Regions from separate parts of the Homo sapiens genome. Here region 2 is linked to region 1. The links are contacts of gene promoters, found by promoter capture Hi-C in blood cells and fetal thymus (Javierre and others, 2016). All regions are on one chromosome and are shown on one strand. The core of a region is centred on a gene start or on the middle of the fragment in contact, and the rest is flanking DNA. Distances in the headings are between cores, read along the strand shown.

Region 1 (7,265 bases), core at 3,412-5,911:
GACTGCAGCTAGACAGTTGTCAAGGTCCCTTACGGTATCCTTTGGTAAAGCCAGAGGAATATGTGTGCTAGTTATCAGCACACTATGGTAGCTAATTTATTATTGAAGGAGTATGCTAAACAGGTGCTTATAAACAACTTAAATCAGTTTTCAAACTTTTTGACTACAATTTGCAGTAAGAAATACATATTACATCATTACCTAGTAAACATACATATGTATTTTTATGTACGTGTGTGTAATTAAAGCAGATCTTATAAAATGGTACTTACCCTTACAAAATAGATTTTGAAATTTCTCATTATGTGTGTTTCTATTCATTTCATTTAAAAAAAACCCTGTTGGTTGCAACCCACTAAATCAATTTCATGACTCCCTATTAGGATGGGACCCACAGTTTGAAAAACGTGAATTGATTCAAGCAGAGTGATACTGGTGACTGCTGAGCTGTTTTCATCCTGTTCAATCAACATTTGAATGGAGGTATAGAAGGAATGCTCCCAAATTTACACATAGACTAATAAGACAATAAATTATTTGCATGATATAATCAGGATTAAGAAATTCCTAGCAGATGAAATTTAATGGATAATTAAATAGAAAATTTGTATTAAATAATCTTTTTTTTTTGTTTTGAAACAGAGTCTTGGTTTCTTGCCCAGGCTAGAGTGCAGTGGCATGATCTCTGCTCACTGCAACTTCTGCTTCCCGGGTTCAACTGATCCTCCTGCCTCAGCCTCCTGAGTAGCTGGAATTACAGGTGGCCACCACCACACCTGGCTAGTTTTTGTATTTTTAGTAGAGATGGGGTTTCACCGTGTTTTCCAGGCTGATCTTCAACACCTGACCTCAAGTGACCCACCTGCCTTGGCCTCCCGAAGTGTTGGGATTACAAGCATGGACCACCATGCCTGGCCTTAAAATAAAATTTAAATTTAAATTGATATGTTCAATTTTGTACTTATATCTCAAAATCTACATGTAAAGCTACAAATTGTAGATATGCTGCTGCTAAAAAAACAGTAATAACAAAAGAAAACGCCTTAGTTTTTCAGGTCGATAATTATTTCATGCAGAAGCTATTGTGATTAATAAAGTAAAACTCTTTATTAATCCTAATTAATCCTGATGGTCTAATCTGTCCATCAAGATGGACCTTTACGAAGATTACCCATGTAAGGATGGACTGGAGAAGAGTGAGTGTGGAAAAGAGGAGACCAGGTATGAAGTGACTGGGATCTGAATCAGGGTGGCTGCAGTGAGGATGAAAAAAGTGGGATGAATGCGAGACCTATTACCAGGAAGAATGGGCAGATCTGTAACTAATTTAATGGTGATAATAATTTCAATATGAGAGGAGAATGGAACCAAAATTATTTGAGAACCTACTACGTGCCAAATGTGAATCATTACTACATTACACGAATCATTAGTGTCATGTTAAGAAAAAAATCCAAAACCAAAACAAACCAAACAGATCTAATTTGATTTGGGGCAACATTAACAGGAGCTATATTGCTAAAGGTTGAGGGTGAGGTAAGAATTTCCCTCTGTTTTATACAGGTCTAAACCCACATTGAATTTGGAGTATTCTGTTCAGATAAAGTTTAGAGGAAAGCAAGAAATGTGTTCTTTAAAGAACAGGTGAAGGAAACGGGAATAGTGTGGAGAACGGCTGTTTCCATCCATTCATTTTTGAACATATTTATTCAATGTAAATTATGTCAGGCAAGGTAGGTGCAAAAAAAAAAAAAACCCAAAAATAATGACACAAAATAACTGTGGGTATTTTCCGGCAGCCAATGAAGGGAAACATTATTGATTGCCACTTACTACTACATTAAGTACGTTAAATGTATTAGCTCCTTTAATCCTATAAAGTAGTATTATCATCCTTACTTTGGGTTGAGTAAACTGAAGCTTTGAAGCTAAAGTCATTTTCCCAACATCACACATATAAGTGGTGGTGGAACTAGAATCTAAATCCAGCTTCCATTGAATCTGGGGCATGACTTCTCAACCTCTCTGCAATATTGCTTCCTGAAACTCAGATTCACAGGTTTCTTATCTTTGAATGATTGTCCTTAGGAAGTATGGGTATGCAAAAATGCATACAAAATTAATATTCACCACATAAAATATATTTTTTAATCTGGAGATTTAAAAATATACATATTGGGTATCTTCTATTATTATGTAGCTTTTCTTTCAAAATATTGTTAATGTAAATGTAAAGTTATTTGCACATTTTCCGGGAAAAGGTTTTGTAGGCCAAAAAGAAATAGACCTGTTGACTTTTCTGAACTTTATGCTTTTGGGATGGTATGGAAGACATATAACTGTGCAATTATGCAGACTTGTATGTGGTTATAATTGGTATTACATGTGTTTATAGGTCATGCAACACACATGCCTGTATACTAAGGACACAAAGACACATTGACTATATGCTAGCTGCTCAGCTGAAATTATTTTATGGAATTCTTACTTCCCTATGAAACACATATTATCATTCCTACTTAAGGAACCAGGAGACTGAAACTCAAATAGCTTGAGTAGACTGCAAAGGTAGTAAGTTGTAACTATGACTCAAAGAATCATGCACTTTCCACAGTATCATAGCGCCTGCGAGGAGCTGATTGTCTACTGGAGAAAGATTTTTAATTGGTAAGCTCTTTTAAATATCTCTGAAATTGAATTAAGTAGGCAAAAGAAGTGGAGTTTTCCTACTTAGAAATGGTGATATTATCTTTACCCACTCACTATCTTCACTAAGAAAAATGAGCAGAAAAATACAACCAACTGCATATACATACTACTTAAGAAAAAATACAAGAAAAATCAAAATGGAAATGTTAAAAATGATGTTAAGCTATTCATTCAGAAAGGAAATAGAAAGTTCAGGTTGTCACTGTCTCTCAAAGTACTCATGCAAGAAGTCTAAAAATAGCAAAAGGTAGAACCTGCTGCCATATAGATATATGCACAGTGGGTAAAAAAACTTAGTGTGACAACCTTTCAGTCTAGATTTATGTATTTTACAAAGATATCATTTTAAATTTGCAAATGAAACAGTACTCTTAAAAGCAGATGATACTCACTTGGGACAGACAAAAATGTAGTAGAAGGATATAAACGTTACAGGATTTTTCAATTATATAGTATATCTCAAGTCATACTATTATGACTTGTATGTTTTGTAAATTTCCCGTACAGTTTCAAGCATTCTAGCATTTTATAATTCAATTGCCATTTAATTTAAATGGACATGCTAGTTACCACTGCTTTCAGAAGTGTTTGCTTAACTACTTTAACAATTCAATCACTTTGGTGCAAGTTTAAACAAACAGACATGCAACCAAGAATTCATCCTAAGTACTGGTTTTGAGGAACTTTTTTATAACCTGTGGTACTTAGAATTTTACCGTGTTCCCATATCCTGGGAGTTAACTTGACTGGCAGGTCCAATTAAATATGAATAATAACAAAACTGATTATGGTGGATTTGTATATTGACCTTTTTCATTTGAGAGGACAATTAAAACGATCTGAATATACCTCAAGATACCTAATATTTCTGGTGACTTGCAATAATCTTTATTGAAAAGGGAAGACCTCATGAAATATTAAAGAAAATTATATCATTCCTTTCAAGGAACAGTCATGCCTATTTAGTTTTAATTCAATACTAACAGCAAGATTACTGTGTACATTTTAATTTTTAAAAATTAAAGGTTTATTTTTTGTCTCGTATCTGTGCAGACATAGATATGTACTTTTCTCACAGACAAGGCTGGCAGTGAGAATCACCCATGTTTTTAGATAATTTCGAAAGTCCTCTGAATTGTACGTGCCTGTGAAAAAAGGAAACATTAATAATTGGCATCATACCTGAGGATTGTCAGGATTTTGAAAGTGTGGGATTTGTCGTTCCCACCAAACTACCCCACAGTGTCACACACTGCAGTCTTTTTAGGCTGGGAGGCGAGTTCAAGAGCTGTTTGTTGTTCCGAGCTTGATCCAGAGAGGATCACTGTTTGACAAGTTCTATTTTAAGTCGTGCCTGAGTGTGCAGGTGTCAGCCTCTTTCATGGCTGTAGAAAAAGCACCATTACACTCCGTCTGTATTCTTCCCCCGACAATGCAGGATCGCCCCCCCGCCCCCCCGCGCGTTTGTTTCTGCTTTGCCAGCCACTTTTTCTTTGGGAAATTCTAGGGAGGGCAGGCGGACAGGACTGCGAGGAAGGGCGAGGAGGGGCAGAAAGAGGTCGTCTGCCACTCCCCTACCTTACAAGGCACGTGGCACTGGCAGTAGCAGCAGCTGGATGCAACAACTGAGATGAGGAACCTCCTCCCAGCAAGAGGATATTGAGAGAAGGAGGAGGTGGCAGCGAAGGCAAGACATGCACACTGTGTCCTTCCCCAAAGGGAGAATCCGCCCTCAAGGGAAAAACCACAAGGAAGCCACTACCCGCCCCGCCTCTGCCAGCTTGCCCCAGTGTCTGGCAGCAGTCCCCATGCACCTGCTCACCTGTCTATCCGTTCGGGGTGGTTGGGGGAGGGACGAGGGGTGTCGGGGTGGGTGGGTGGGAAGAGAAGGAGGGCAGGGCAAAAGAGGGGGTGCACCGAGGGCTCCGCCCCCCCGGAGGCTGTGCGCAGGCGCAGTGGCTGCTACCGCAGGCAGGGGGCGGCAACATGGCGGAGTGAGCGGCGGCGTCGGGGCTTCACAACAACAGTGGTGGCCGTAGCAGCGGCGGCAGCAGCGTCAATAGCATCGGCCACAGCCTGAGCTTCAGCACCGGCCAGCGTCGTGGCCAGCTGCTCGCGTCCTCGGGCTTCTCGGAGCGGCTGCAGCATCTCCGCGGGGGGCGGGCCGGGCCGGACAGACCGGGAGAGGGAGAGAGCAGAGGCAGCGGCGGCGGCAGCGGCAGCGGCAGCGGCACACCTGCTGGGCGGGCACAGCCGCTTGCCCGGCAGCGGTTAGCGGTACCGCCACCGCCGAGAATAAGCCTGCGGATCCCCCGCCGCCTCCGCGGGGGAGAGCGCCGGAGCGGGCCGGGCTGAGGCGCAGGCGGGGAGCGGGCCCGGCGCCGCGGCGCTGGTGGATGCTGGGGCTCCGAGGCGACGGCCGGGGGGCGGGGGCCGAGGCAGGTATAACGGTACCGGCGGCGGCAGCGCCGCTGCTCTTCCCTTCTCCTCAGGAGGGGGGCCAATGGCTAGCGAGAAGCCGGGCCCGGGCCCGGGGCTCGAGCCTCAGCCCGTGGGGCTCATTGCCGTCGGGGCCGCTGGCGGAGGCGGCGGGGGCAGCGGTGGTGGCGGCACCGGGGGCAGCGGGATGGGGGAGCTAAGGGGGGCGTCCGGCTCCGGCTCGGTGATGCTCCCCGCGGGGATGATTAACCCTTCGGTGCCGATCCGCAACATCCGGATGAAATTCGCAGTGTTGATTGGACTCATACAGGTCGGAGAGGTCAGCAACAGGGACATCGTGGAGACGGTGCTCAACCTGGTAAGGAAAAGGCGTGCTCTCAATCTGCTTCCCCAGTCCCCACATACACCGTCCCCAGCGCCTTTCCCTCCCACCCTTCACCCCCAGGGTCACACGCGCCGCGCGTCCCTGGGAGCGCAGAGCGTTCAGCCGGTATTGCCCAGCGGGTGACCTGCCTGCGCGCTGCTAGAGCCACGCCACCTCCCTCCTCTCCTCTTTCTGGTCCTCTCCTGCCACCTGAGCGCAGTGCCCAACTTAACACCGCTTCTTCTCACTTTTTAGGACCGCGAGTAACCCAGTACCCGCGGTGAAGGTTTTGGGTCGACTTTAGAGTTTAGTTAGGAGGTGAGGAGGCCTCCTGTTCTCTGGGGTTCTTTTTCTCACACTTAATTGTCCTTGGTGTCGCTCTCCGAGGATGACAGCCTTGCCCCTGGAGCCTAAATTCCCCCGTGCTGCTGAAATGTGAGAAGCGCATTAGCTTCCAACTTGAGCAGCTGGGGTGTGATGTTTTCGAAGGAGACAGAAAATGATGCAGTTTTGCATCTGTCTTTAAATATTCCAAGGCCATGATGGAGAGTGTTGTGTCTGTATCCATCCCCCTCCATCTCAGAAGCAGCCGTCCCTTCTTTGTAATATTGCCCTGAATATACTGATCTCTTAGTCATTTTTTGTGCACACAAGGTGTGTGAGGACACCAAATCACACAGGTTGATTTCTGTGGTTACTTTCAGTAGTGTGGCATGTGGGTAAAGACTAAAGGAAAGGTTTTAAACGCAGCCCTAGGTTTTGGTTCCTTTCATGGTAAGAAAGAGTTACTGCAGAAGTGTGTATGACTTAATGTTTTGCGCTATCTACAGAGAGGCTCAGAAGCGTTTAAGATGTCAGGGAAAGAAATGGAAAGAAGGAGAGGAGAATCATACATTGAGGATAATTAACAGTAGTTCATATTTAGTGCTTTGTAAATGGAGGTTTTGTTTTGTTTTGTTTTGTTTTTAAATGCAGCCAAGCTTTTTAAACAGTTTTCTCTGCAATAGATCTAGTCTTTGACATACTGTAAGGTTGGGCTTTGGGAGGCAAGACATAAATCGAGAGCAATCAGTTGAGTATTGTATTTGGTGTGGGGTCACAGGAATATAACAATATGCTTACAGGGGTACTTTGTAACACCCATGCAGTCATTTTTCAGCTAAGCAATTATTTTTACTTACTCTATTGGAAAACTGAGAGAAAGCTGCAGCTACATCAGTGGTGTCCTGAGACATGCATTAGATAATGTCTACGGTTTATGAACCTCGTAAATGCACAGAAAAGTTGAAGCTGTTTTTTTCCTTTTGCTAGTGTGTCAGGTCAAAGGAGATTATCTGTCTTTGTTATATTCATTGCTGTTTAAAACAAAACACCTCTTTTTACTTTTTTGTACCTTTCAAATAAATCATCATGAAAAGTCAGTGTAAGTTTGAGGGAATGTCACTAAGTTGATATAACCAAGTTCTTTTCAGAACACTACTAGAAATACAGTTTTCTTGAGTTTTAATTTTAACTAGCTGCAAATAAGAGGTCAGTACTTGCCATTTCTTTTTAAAAGAAGATAAATCTCAAACTGTTAGTATGTTAGCAGGTAACTGTATTTCTGTAATTTAAAGGAACACATTTTTAGTTGCAGTTTTGATCTAACCAATATCATTTTTAAGTTAGATTATATTAGGCTATTTTAGTAAGTATTCCTATGCTTACTTAATACATTTTAACCTGGTAAGAGGCAGTAGAGCTTTCACAACCT
Region 2 (6,801 bases), core at 2,671-5,170, 1.4 Mb before region 1:
TAAATTATTGGAATGGAAGAGGACTGAGTGATCCCTTATAGAACACACAGAGGTCAGGCTTACACCCCAGTTGGTCCTCATCATGATCTGGAATAAGAGCATCAGTGATTTGGGGGACATGAATAGAGCTGGGTTATGGGAAAGCTACTCTAGATGTGACATTCCATTTTCCGTGTGTGCATGTAAATAAATTAAATATATAGGATTGTCAATCCTCAGTGATACAGTTAAGAGTACTGAAGACTCAAAGGTGGAAAATAAAATGGTAAAATGGTGAAGCAAAACAGAAATGGCAAATAAGACAACTAAATTGTGCTGGCCATTATTTAACATGCCATTACATCATACGTATTTTTAAAGCCAGGAATTTATGAAATTTAGTGTAACATCATTTGGACTGTTTTATCATCAATAACTGTAAGAAACTTTTTAATTGTTCCAAACTGCATTTGTTTATTCTATAAGTTAGGAAAATGAAAACTAATAAAAAATAATAAAGAAAACGAAGCTTAGGAAATAAGAGTATTTGATTCTGAAATATATTTTCCCATCATGGGAGAGTCTCCTGAATCTGAGAATGTTGTAATATTACTCAGTCTATATTTACTGCATAATGATTATGCTGTCTTGGTAAGATAAAAATTAGATAAACATTAGGGATGTATATGAGAGGTGACAATAAAAACTGAAGTCAATGTCTTATATTCAAGGGATTTATAACTCTCTCTGGGCTAGCACAATCTGAAAAGCAGAATTAAAAGGGAAAAACTGGTAGATACCTCTTTTAACGAACACTCAACTGTAAAACCACCTGGTTTTCCTCTTTAAAGAAAGAAGAAATTGCTTCTGCCAGCTTACTGAACAGAACTTCCCTGTGATGTCTGATAACAGCCTATACTCCAATCTCTGTAAAAGTCACACTAATTATTAATACACTGGAGCAGAGTTCAGGTTCCATTTTGTCATACAGTCTTAGTGAAACTGCCTCATTATATTGTTCTATCGGTTTGTTAGTAACAAAATTCCCTTGCTATTCATATTAGAGCTGCTTTAAATTTTATTCCACATTAAATAAACTTTTTAATCAGATTTTCTTTTAGGTTATTTTATCATAGTAAAAATTTTATTTTAGGTTACAAAAACAATTTCAGGATTCATTAAATAGCAGCAAGAGAGCAAATACCACGACTTGAGCACTACAGATGAGTAAACTTCCAGAACAGTTCTGAGCACGGCTTTCAATAAAATGAACAAGTTGTTTACATAGCTGTGAGAAAGGTTATTGTTTCATTGGTTTTGCGTCCTAGTGCAGCATTCAGCATTTAGTGGGAGTCCAATCAGTGTTTACTGAATAAAACAAACTAAGTGATGAGCAGAAATCTGGAAATGTTGTGGTTTCCGAAATACTGCTGCTACGCAGACAAGTTATGACTAACATTCCCCCTTGAAGTTAAAACTGTTTGTATAAATAATTTTAAAAACAATAAAGAACCCACTATGTATCAGACATTTTACAAACAATCTTATTAAAACCCAGTCTTGGCAAGTAGGTATCTTATTTGACACTTTAGGGAAACTGAGGCTCAGAAAAGTTAAATAACGCTCAATTACACCCATGCAGAAAGTGAGGGGTCTTGGATTAAGTCCTGATCATTCGATCTTTCTACAGTACACTCACAGACCTGTGGGCAATGTTTTATATAATTATTCCTTGAAATTACGGTAAAAAATCAAATCCACTCTCGGGCTTGGCCGGGAAGTGTATATTTCTTTACTGGCATAAAAAAAAAATTAAAAAACCAACAAGGAAAAGAAAAGAAAAGATGTATTTCTTCTTGCCTGACTAGAACATATGCTTGTATTTTAAGAGTACCAAAGGTGACAGACTGAATTTACAGCTACAGCATAGTCATGTTTAGCTCGCCTGGAAACAGAACTACCCTGATCTCTCAGCAAAAGGAACAGAGGGTGCTTCCCCATACAGAAGACAGAGTCAGGCCAACTCTAAAGAGAACTAGGGCATTGCCTAGGAACCCATCTGTGGCAAGGGGGTACCACTGCCAGGAGGCCCCACAAACACCTCTGGAATTAAGACGGAAAGTCACTTCCATGTCTTCTGTGTTGCTTCTGATGTTTAGAAACAAAAAGTATTGACACTAGTTCAGAAAAATGAGCCTATCTTTATTAGCATAAAGACTCTCAGATTACGAGGATTTAAAAAAAAATGACCCCGCCTCTGAACCGTGAAGAACTAGGGAAATCTGAGTAAAATACAAAAAGGATCTTGAGAGGGCAAGATCCCGAAGAAGGGTGCAGAAAATTCTGCCCATATTTGACTCTCTTTTTCCCCTTACCTTATTCATCAATTTGGAAGTTGTTTCAGAGGCTGAGAAGTTACACAGATAATGGCAACTAAGAAGCAGAGAAGCTGAGAAGAGATTGCTTTCAGGAGTCCACTGATTGAGAAAATAAAAATGCGAGTTCAGGGCCCACGAAAGAGGGAAGGCCTAACACCTCGGCTTTTAGCTGGGACACAGAAAGGGTCACCTCAGGAGTAAGAAAGAACCTGAAATAGACGAGACCTAACAAAGTCTAAAAACCAGTTTGAAATAATCTCACTTCCATATTAGATTAAGGTGCTCTGCCCTTAGCCTAGCTTCCTAATAGAAGCAAAAGTAAATCCTACAAATACTTCCATAAAGTAAAAAACACCACTCAGAGCCCAGTATTTTTTTTTTTTTCATAAACAAAGACAACATTTCATAAAGAATTTCTGGGCATACCAGGAAACAGAAGAAAAAGATAATGGAAACAAGATCCACAGATGATCCAAATACTGGAGTTAATGGGCACAAACTATTTAATTTTTTTTTTTTTTTTGAGACGGAGTCTGGCTCTGTGACCCAGGCTGGAGTGCAGTGTTATAATCTCGGCTCACTGCAAGCTCCGCCTCCCGGGTTCACACCATTCTCCTGCCTCAGCCTCCTGAGTAGCTGGGACTACAGGTGCCTGCCACCATGCCGGACTAATTTTTTGTATATTTAGTAGAGACGGGGTTTCACCGTGTTTGCCAGGATGGTCTCAATCTCCTGACCTTGTGATCCGCCCACCTCTGCCTCCCAAAGTGCTGGGATTATAGGCGTGAGCCACTGCGCCCGGCCTTGCATTTATTAATACTAGAGACGTAGAATCTATGCATAAGAAAATTCTAGAACTAAAATAAAATGATTCAACAACTGAAAACTTAAACTAAAAAAATACACTTAGAATAAAAACCATGAAATGTGTTGGAAGAAACTTAACAATGTATGTGCAATACCTGTATGCTGAAAATTACAAACAGAAATTAAAGATCAAAATAAAAGGAGATATATGCCATGTTCATAGATTGGAAAACTCAGTATTTTTAAGATGTCAGTTCTCTCCAAGCTGATGAATAAATTTAACAGAATCCCATTCAAAATCCCAGCAGATGTTTTTAGAAATTGAAATGACAATTTAAAAATTTATATTAAAATGCAAAGGACTTAGAATGGCCAAAGTAATTTTGAGGAAAAAAATACTTCCACTATCTGATTTCAAGACGTATAAAGCTACAGTAATCAATACAGTGTGGGACTGGGTTAAGAACAGACATATTTATCAATGAAATTGAATAGAATAGAAATTCAGAAGATCGGCAGATTTTTAATAAAGGTGCCAAGGTAATTCAATGAAGGATAATCTTTTTAACGAATGCTACCAGAATAACAGGATTTCTATTTTGAAAAATATGACTATCAACCATTATTGTGCCATACTAAAAATTAAGTGGATCGTAAACATAAATAAGATATATTGTGAATCTCAGAAATGAGAGGATTTTATGAACAGCTTTATGCTAATGAATATTTGGATACGTACAAATCCCTACAAATATACAACTTACAAACAAAAGCTGCTCTTTAAAAGACACTTTTAAGAAAATGAAAAAGCAGGCCACAGACTGGGAGAAAAATATTCACAACATATACTTCTGACAAAAAAGTCATACGCATAGTATGTAAATAACTCCTACAACTCAATTACAAACAACTTAGTTTTAAAATGGGCAAAAGTTTTGAACATATACCCACTTAATGGCTAAAACTAAAAACTAAAAATAGCAAGTGTTGGCATTTGATAAAAAGACCTGTCACCCTTTTAAACTATAGTAGTTCCCCCTTAGCTTCAGGGGAAATGTTCCAAGAACCTAGTGGATGCCTGAACCTCAGAGAGTACCCTACCCTAAATATATTATGCACGAATTTCTTTTTCTTTCTTCATAATTTCACAGATAGAAGACTGATTCTTACCAACCACTTGGTTCCTAGTGACCTTAGGTGATTCCTTAAGTCGAGAACTTTCACCTTCCACTTAAAGGAAGCACATTAAGGCTTCTTTTGGCATATCCAAATTGCCAGTATCACTACTATTGGGCCTTGGAGACATTATTAAGGAAAATATAGGTTATTTGAATCCAAGCTCAGTGATATGGTGATAGTTGATAACTGTGATAGTGGATGCTGAACAAAGGGAGGATACACGTTCTGGGAGGCACAGAGAGAGGCAGCATGAGATTTCATCACACTACTTAGAACTTCTAGCAATTTAAAATTTATATTTCTGAAATTTTCCATTAAATATTTTTGGACCTCGGTTGACAGTTGGTAACTGAAACTATGGAAAGCAATACCATGTATAAAGGGGGTTCCTATACAAGGATGTTTGATGAGTGCAGACACAAATAGATTCGATGGTGGGAATACACAAAAATTCTTGGCTTATGCTCACAATTCTTTTTTCAATAAAGTGTGAGGCAAAGTCATTAGTTGAGGAAGTTGATAATTTGAGGAAGGAAAAGAATGAGATATTTGGATTACAGAAGGAAAGGGCAAAGTCAGTAAAGCAAAGGAGTAGGAGAGCTGATCAATATGCAGAGCCAATTTAGGTGTGAGATCACACTAGTCCACCCAACAGTTAACAGGCTGAGCCCAAGCTCAGAAAAGATAAATGCATGCAGGAGTTCATCCATGGTTTGAGTTTTGCCAGGGAAGTGCTAAAAGTGAGGGATAAGAGTTGAGGATATTTGCAAAGGAGTCAATGCCACTATTTCTGAATATATGTGTACTCTTTGAACTGTGAAGGGCTATGTTACTGTAACTTTATAGTATAATGGTAGCAAAATGAAGCAATCCCTCAATTTAAGGTTGGTTATATACGATGTAGAGAAAGATGGGAAAGTCGAAAAAAAAAAGTAAGCAACTAAATGGGATATAGCCAAAGCTGAAGTATGCAATGATGAAATAAACTGATTCCATATTCCACACATTTGATTTTAGGGTCTAAAAGCTATTTTGCAATCTTCCAGATCACTCTTTGAAGACCTATTACAGCTTCAGCTCTGACCTCTTTCACGTGTTTTCTAGTATCTTCCAACATTTTCCCCTTTTCTTCCCCTTTGGATATCCTGCCTCCTTCTTGCCCTATTTCTGACCAATCTTGAATGATATTGCAATATCCCCCTAACTTCTACATAAACAGGTGCCATAGTACTCCTCACGTCACAGCAGCGTTTTTTCCAGTACCAACTACCCAGACTATCAAACGGTTTTAGCAAAAAACAATGAAATACACTTATTTGGCAATTTCGGACAATCTTTCTTATATCCTCCGGCCCACTGCTGTTTCTTTCAAAATATCTACTTAAAAGCCTGTATTCCTTTCCCTCTGGCTTTTACAAGGATTGTTTTTATATAGGCCCTGGACTGCAAAGAGCTTTGAAATCCAGATAAAAGTGTTTACCAAGGCTGAAGAAATTTTCCAGGAGAACTGAGCACTTTGCACAGATGACATTTTTGGAATTAGTTTAAAATTAAACGGAGCGGATGCAGATTCATACAGATTTTATTTCTGCAACACACTTGGTTGTTTCCTTGCAGCATCTAAAAACAAAGCCAATGCACTTTCAGAAACTACTATGGTCCTCCAAAATTCAAAAGTGAAAAAATGACAAAATTTTTCTTTGTAACACATCTGCACAAGAGGCTTTCCTTTAAAATTTGATAAAAGACCAAGGCCACACCAGAAAACACAGAATATAAAACTGTGTATCGACAAAAATTAAAAACTAAACTCCTTAAGAGAATCGCTTGCTAAAAAGTTTAAAAAACACGAAGACATGCTTTCTTAAATAATTTGAAAATGTTTTTGGTTCCACACGAGTAGTCTATTTGTTTGCGTGCCTTTTTTATTCCTTGTGACACCCCTACCTTCTCAGAATAAACACTGAAAGATGAACAGACCGGGGGATCAAGCCGGTTCACTAAGATTTAGAGGGGAAGGCTGGGTCCATCTTAGCACTGAGACCGCACCCAGACTGCATTTGGATCGCTAAGGACTAAGAAAACAGTACAGATCCAGTTTTACCTCTTATACCATTAATTTTCCATAAAGCCTTCCAGAAACCTGACTCACAGCCAGAAACCCAAACCCCGTGGGCGGGATTTAAAACAAAACCCATTACGCCACCATTTCCGCCTTGCCTGCCTAGCAAACGTGCAAACATTGAAAAAGACGCACACGCAGACCGCGCCTACGTCCCCAAAGTGCGCAAGCGCACGGCGAGACCCCGCCCCTCGCCCTCCCACCAAGACGAGGCGCGCGCACCAGCAACCAGGGCCCGCTGGCGCCGCCCCGGGTTTCCGCTCCGGGGCTCGTCGGTCGCCGTTCGGTTCCGGTTCTGGCCCCGCCCTCACGCGGGAACCCTCCAGAAGTCTTAAT

The links. Contacts are between HindIII fragments. The CHiCAGO score rates a contact against its expected background, and 5 or more counts as called.
Region 2: a fragment that was not itself captured here is called in contact with the fragment with the promoter of NBEA in region 1 in 1 of 17 cell types (total B cells); the score reaches 6.5 in total B cells.

What each region holds. Positions count from the first base shown.
Region 1 is chr13:34,937,609-34,944,873 of GRCh38, forward strand. It overlaps NBEA (neurobeachin), which reads left to right and starts at 4,662. Exons shown (of 59, transcript NM_001385012.1): 1 at 4,662-5,506. The coding sequence starts at 5,213. LOC124903231 (a long non-coding RNA gene) reads right to left here and starts at 4,582. Exons shown (of 2, transcript XR_007063908.1): 1 at 4,532-4,582; 2 at 3,713-4,094. RefSeq lists an enhancer at 4,244-4,353 and silencers at 4,524-4,593, 5,034-5,153, 6,213-6,302. The HindIII fragment of the contact is 4,572 bases long and covers 1,919-6,490 here.
Region 2 is chr13:33,535,908-33,542,708 of GRCh38, forward strand. It overlaps a transcript of STARD13 not described here. Among named protein-coding and RNA genes, the nearest start is that of LINC02344, 200 kb to the left of the region's middle. The HindIII fragment of the contact is 6,829 bases long and covers 507-6,801 here.